Linked DNA regions of Homo sapiens: region 2 is linked to region 1. Evidence: promoter capture Hi-C in human tissues and cell types (Jung and others, 2019). All regions are on one chromosome and are shown on one strand. Each heading gives the region's core, a stretch centred on a gene start or on the middle of the fragment in contact. The rest is flanking DNA. Distances are from core to core; before and after follow the strand shown. Region 1 holds the start of SAMD9L (sterile alpha motif domain containing 9 like). Region 2 overlaps CDK6 (cyclin dependent kinase 6).

Evidence for each region. The method cuts DNA at HindIII sites, captures the fragments that hold promoters and counts their contacts. A contact is called where the count stands out against the background at its distance.
Region 2: a fragment that was not itself captured here is called in contact with the fragment with the promoter of SAMD9L in region 1 in 1 of the 25 tissues and cell types used here (IMR-90 fibroblasts).

The regions. Positions count from the first base shown.
Region 1 is chr7:93,146,861-93,149,735 of GRCh38, reverse strand. It overlaps SAMD9L (sterile alpha motif domain containing 9 like), which reads left to right and starts at 1,351. Exons shown (of 5, transcript NM_152703.5): 1 at 1,351-1,542; 2 at 2,590-2,853. RefSeq lists an enhancer at 2,052-2,151. The HindIII fragment of the contact is 15,444 bases long and covers 1-2,875 here.
Region 2 is chr7:92,642,516-92,645,390 of GRCh38, reverse strand. The region is part of intron 5 of CDK6 (cyclin dependent kinase 6); the gene reads left to right. LOC112268009 (a long non-coding RNA gene) reads left to right here. Exons shown (of 2, transcript XR_002956577.2): 1 at 1-2,875. Among named protein-coding and RNA genes, the nearest start is that of FAM133B, 54 kb to the right of the region's middle. The HindIII fragment of the contact is 3,085 bases long and covers 1-2,875 here.

The DNA of each region.
Region 1 (2,875 bases), core at 102-2,601:
AACCTTTTAAGTTGGTCCTCTAATCCGAGGTCAGTCAAGCATCTTTGCCTTTTATTAACAGGGGTCTCTAATTCACCCTGTCTTCGGAGAGACTCTAATTCCCCTAAGTTGGGCCTCTAACCCAATCCCATTCTTTACCCGGGTACCCCACCACTTACCCAAAGTCATCCAATCAGTGCTATAGTCCATTTCCTTTGGGTTGGTGGGGAGGTTCTTCAGTATCGGTCCCTCATGGTTGCCAGAAATGTTACAGGACCAGGGTTCCAATCCAGACCCCTAGAGAGGGTTCTTGGAGCTCATGCAAGAAAGAATTCAGGGCGAGTCCACAGTGCAAAGTAAAAGCAAGTTTATTAAGAAAGTACAGTGGTAAAAGGACAGCTACTCCACAGACAGAGTAGGACGTTCCCGAAAGTAAGAGGAGGAACACATCCACCCTAGGTACAATGCTTGTATATATGGAGAGATGTGTTTTGCTACAAGGGTTTCTGATAAAGAATTAATTTTCTTAATTAGTGTATTTTGCAAGAATCAATATTATTTTCTTTAAAGCAAAATTAAGAATGCCTCTGTTCTCCAGATATTGGGATATCTGGACACTCCCAAGTCACGGTCTGCTTAGTAAATATTATTAATTTGCTCCCTTAATCATAAACATCTAGAGGCTAGGAATGCCTACCTTTCTGAGAAGGCAGCCCAGCAAGTCTCAGCCTCATTTTCGTAGCCCTCATTCAAAATGGAGTCACTCTGGTTCGAATGTCTCTGACATTATCAGGGTTGGTTTCTTCTGATGTCTCTCTCCTTGGCTTGTAGATGGCCATCTTTTCTTTGTGTCTTCACATGGTCTTCCCTCTGTATGTGTCTGTGTCCCAATCTCGTCTTCTTACAAGGACACAGTCAGATTCAATTACAGACACTCTAATGACCTCATTTTAACTTAATTATCTCCTGAAAGACCTTATCTCCAAATACAGTTACATTTGGAGGGAGTGAGGATTAGGACTTTAACATATGAATGTTTGGGGGACACAATTCAACCAGTAACAGGAACTTAGATTGCACTGACATATTAATTTTCTCCCTGGTATTTCCATTCTCTTTGTCCTGTAGGTAGTTTTTTGGGTCACTGGGTTTTTTTGTTTGTTTGTTTGTTGTTTCCTTATTCCTTAACTCTTATAACTTAAAAATCTGCCTGGTAAACAGTTTCTAAGCAGTGATTCAAATTTATTGATATTTTTGGTAATGTTATTGATTAAAAAACATTTCAGATCCTTCTAAACTCAAGAAAAAAGAATGTTCTAAAGCAAAACTGAAACTGTCTATACTTCAACTTCCTCCTGCTTCTCAACTGGCACTCTGACACACCCTCAGAAAGTCAGAGTACTGGGAGAACAGAAGACTTCACAATTTAATGCCTCAGTTTTTAAAAAAGGATCCTTACACTTCATGTCTCCTAGCCATCAGAAGAGGAATGAGACAGCAAAAGTTCAAATGGCCTGTTTCAAGTTTCTGATATAAAACGATGACATTTTCAGGAAAATCCTGGTAAGTAAACTGAATCATTAAACCTTTATTTGTTATGCTTTTGAGGCGACAGCTATTTTTTAAAACTTCAGCTGTACTTTTTATATAAATATATGTTTGTACATAAACGATTACTTATAAAAATACTAGAGTAATTAGAAAAATCAATGGATTAAATACATGTCAGTATATTTAACTGATAATAACTTTGTAAGTGCTCTTCTAAAAAGAAACATACCATTAAGTGTAATTAGGATAGTGGGAGGGTTTCTGATTGTGGCAGGCAGGCTTTGGAAAAGAGGATAGAGAAACGATGCAAACAGGGTCAGGAATTTAAGCACTGAAGATTCTAAAGGAACGTGTGATCTTGTGTAATTACACAAAATTCTGTCTTCATAACGTAAGATGTTATTAAAACTTTTACATTTTATCAAAGTTAATACTCTGCAGAGGCTAAATATTATTCTATTAAAGTATTTCATTCACATACATCTTATCCAGCAATCTGGTTGAAAACTAAGAAAAAAAATGCAAAGTGTTCTTCAGGAAAACGAAACTAACTTGCTTGTGTGGCTTCTGTCTGCCAGACTATGCAAGGAGGGTGTGGGTAGCTCTCCTGGGCTACAGCCAGATTCTGAAGTGTGTTTCCCCTACATCAGTTCTAAGAATCCTGCAGAGCAGAACACCTCCCTAGGGCATGGATATCAGCGGTGTTGCTGAGGGTCTCTCAAAGATGGGGTGGGCTTGTCCCTGAGAGTTTGCTGACTTGGAAATTCTTGCTGAGCATCAAAGAGAGAAAACTGAAGTGTTGAGGATGCCAACCTGCAACTCCTTTGTCAATAACCAACGTTGCTAAAGATAATATTTGTCTTCACAATTGTTTCAAAACAGGACACTGAGGGCCCCTAGAAAGCCAAGACTTAAGTCAAGGCAATCACAAAATTTGTCCACACTAATCATGGTCATTTTGATTGTTACTTAGTTCCAACAGCATACATCCAGATGCTCTTAAAATTGTACTGGCTAAAACGAAAGAAAAAATCTGGAGTCTGTTTTTTCCATCTTTAGCATTTCCAGAGAGAGACTGGCTGGTTAAATTTCTGAAAGAGGACACCAGCTAAAAGAAGGTATTGCATCTCACCCGAGCAGACTGTGTCTGTGGAAAGTGTAAGCCCCTTGCCAGAAGAGCAGCTTCCCAGCAAAGGCAGAGGGTGAAAACAGCAAAGGTCTTAAGACACTGGGGACCTAGAGTCAAAAGGGACCTCCTCCAGGGAAAACGCTGTGTGAGAAATGGCCTCATTCGGTGACTGTGAGTGACACAGCAGAAAGTTGGTAAGGTGTAGTCTGTAACTAG
Region 2 (2,875 bases), core at 151-2,650, 500 kb after region 1:
TGGAAATGCTGGCAACACAATAGCTTAAAAACAAGATAAGCCTCATCTTTTTTCCTGTGTGGGTATGTTAGGGAATGATGGTTTTGATGGCCTTTAAAAAGCAGGAAAGGGCAAAGCCCTGTGATGCCATTTCTTTGGCATTTCATTACTTCATTAAGAGAATTATCCTAAAAGCCTGGGAGCTGTAATACGGCTTAAAAACTGATGAGAGCTGAGTGAAAACACCATAGACTCCAAACCAAATTAACCAGAAGGTTCATCCCAAAGAGACCCGCTTTTATATTCGCACCTGGGGTGTGTACTTTTCCTTCTGCCACTCAAGAGCTTTTGCGTGTGGGGGTGAACAATTTGCTTTCCATGCCAAACCCGATGAAATGGGATTTGTCTTCCCTCTCAGACAGGTGGCCAAGCTGTAACAGAGAGGGCTCTGCCTGGCTGCTTGCCTCTTTGGACATGCAGCACTGTCAGTGCAGCGCCAGGCCCCATATCTGACCCTGTGGCCTCACAATCTGGAGGCCCACATTGGCAGCCTGGGGTGGTGACAGCTTCGGTCAGTTGTTGTGGAGTTCCACTGGCAGACAAAGAAGAGTAGGCGAGTGTGCTGATCCAGGTTCCTTCTGTATGATAGAAGAAACCTCTAAGGTCCTGGTAATGTGTGAACCAGTGGAATACCTGCTCCAATAATTAAAGTATGAGCTTTCCTTCCTCTTTTTCAGGGTGGACCAGGCCTTGGGAAAGGAATTTTGGCCTTCCCAGACTGTACACATTACTTAATGTGTCCTTCTACACTTATTACATGCATCAGGAGCAGATTTCACAAGCCTTCTTCCTATGAGACTAGGTTAGTCACTAGGGTTAATTATTCAGTAGTTAAAGGAAATATTGTGATGGAGGGAAAAATAGATTTCCAGAAGCCAGGGAGTAGAGGGCCTCAGAACATCAAATTGCTCCATGAAGAGAGTACACAGCCATTTTTATTTCAGTCTTTGAACATGAGATAGTAATCGTGATTTGAATTCTCTAAACCTCAAAAATATTCCCTTCTTAGCTGTAAATAGCCACTTGTCCCAACCCCATATATCCATGGGGAGCTTCTGTTCTCCCAGAGAAAATGCAGTTAATTATAGCAAAGAAAGGGACCCTAGGTCTCCCCTTCCTGCCTTAAGAGTAATCTCCAGTATCTCTACTCATGAGATAATAAAATGTATCATTTTCAGAAATTTGAAGAAGGTAGGTCAGGACTCACCAGTGCTGTTTCAAAAGCCTTTTGGTTGTGAGTGCCACATCTGACCACTGCACAGATAGCACTGAGAAAGAAAATTGGACCCAGTTCTCTGCTTTTGCCTTCCATTCTCCCTGTAAGGGTCCACGTGAACAGCAAGTTTGGCCTGGTTTCCTTAGGTCCCTCTGGGCCCATTTCTTTTCTTTCATCATCTTTCCTAAAGCTGATATGACAATTCCATGGGGAAGAAACAAATAGTACACTTGGATGAACTTTGCGAAACACAAAGACCTTTCCTCTTATCCCTGATTCTAAAGGGATTTTTCTGTATTTAATAAGTAAATAAATGAGAACAGTTTTAGACTGAATAGTAAGTGTCCCATTTATATCATATTTGTGATGTTTTGAACAGGGTGAAGGAAACCATTCGTGATAAAGCACATGGATTAAAAATCGTGGTTGACTTGTTTAACAGAACCCAAGTCATAAAGCTCCCTTGAAGAGTACTCAAAAATTCTAGCTACAACCAAAGATGAAAAGAAAGTGAATAGACCTCAGCAGGCCTGCCTCCTCTGTTTCATCCTTTAGGTTAAATGTCACCTCCTTAAAGAGGCTTTTTCTATTATTCTCCACCAGCATATCTTATTTTCTTCATAACACTTACCACTTATTTAATGATTTTCTTTCTCCCTAAACTGTAAGCCTCACAAGGGCAGGGACCACGTCAGTCTTATTTCTGTGTTCCCTACACTCAGCATAGTGATAAGCACATCACAGACTCCAAATGTGCTGAATGAGTGAATGAGCTGCTGAAGCGTGCTATAATGGCAAACCTGTTCCAAGTTCTTCATGGACTTACAGACTCCTCTGGATCACCTCTTTCTTTTCTTAGAACCAACTGAAGAATACTACTTGGTCTCAACATCAGGCTTACCAGTGTTATTCCCATTAGTTCATTTGTATTTTTTAAAACCCGGGATTTGGCCGGGCGTGGTGGCTCAAGCCTGTAATCCCAACACTTTGGGAGGCCAAGGCAAGCAGATCACTTGAGTCCAGGAGTTCGAGACCATCCTGGGCAACATGGCCAAACCCTGTCTCTACAAAAAATTAGTCAGGTGTGGTGGTACATGCCTATAGTCCCAGCTACCTTGGAGGCTGAAGTGGGAGGATCACCTGAGCTCAGGAGGTCAAGGCTGCATTGAGCTGTGATCACACAACTGTATTCCAGCTTTGGTGACAGAGGTAGACCCTGTCTCAAAAAAAAAAAAAAAAATTCTTTTTTCAGCCTGAGTCTCAAGTCCACTAGCAGTTCCGTAGTCATAGCCAAACGATGCGATGTAGTGAAGTGGTCATGAGAGCCAGCTTTGGAGCATCTAGTTGTCTCTATCACTTCTTAGCTCAATGATGATGAGTTATCATTAACCATCCCTCAACCTCAGTTTCCTCAATTGTAAAATGAGGATATTAATATATATCCCCCACATAGCATTGATCTGAGGTTAAACAGTATGTATAAAGCACTTCACTTTTGTCTTTTTGCATTGTACATGTTCAGTGAAACTTAGCCACTGAACTTCCTGTTCATAATGTTAAATTACCTTGGTGTATCACTTTTCTAGAACAGGATAAAGGATGGCTTCTTCTCAGAGGTAA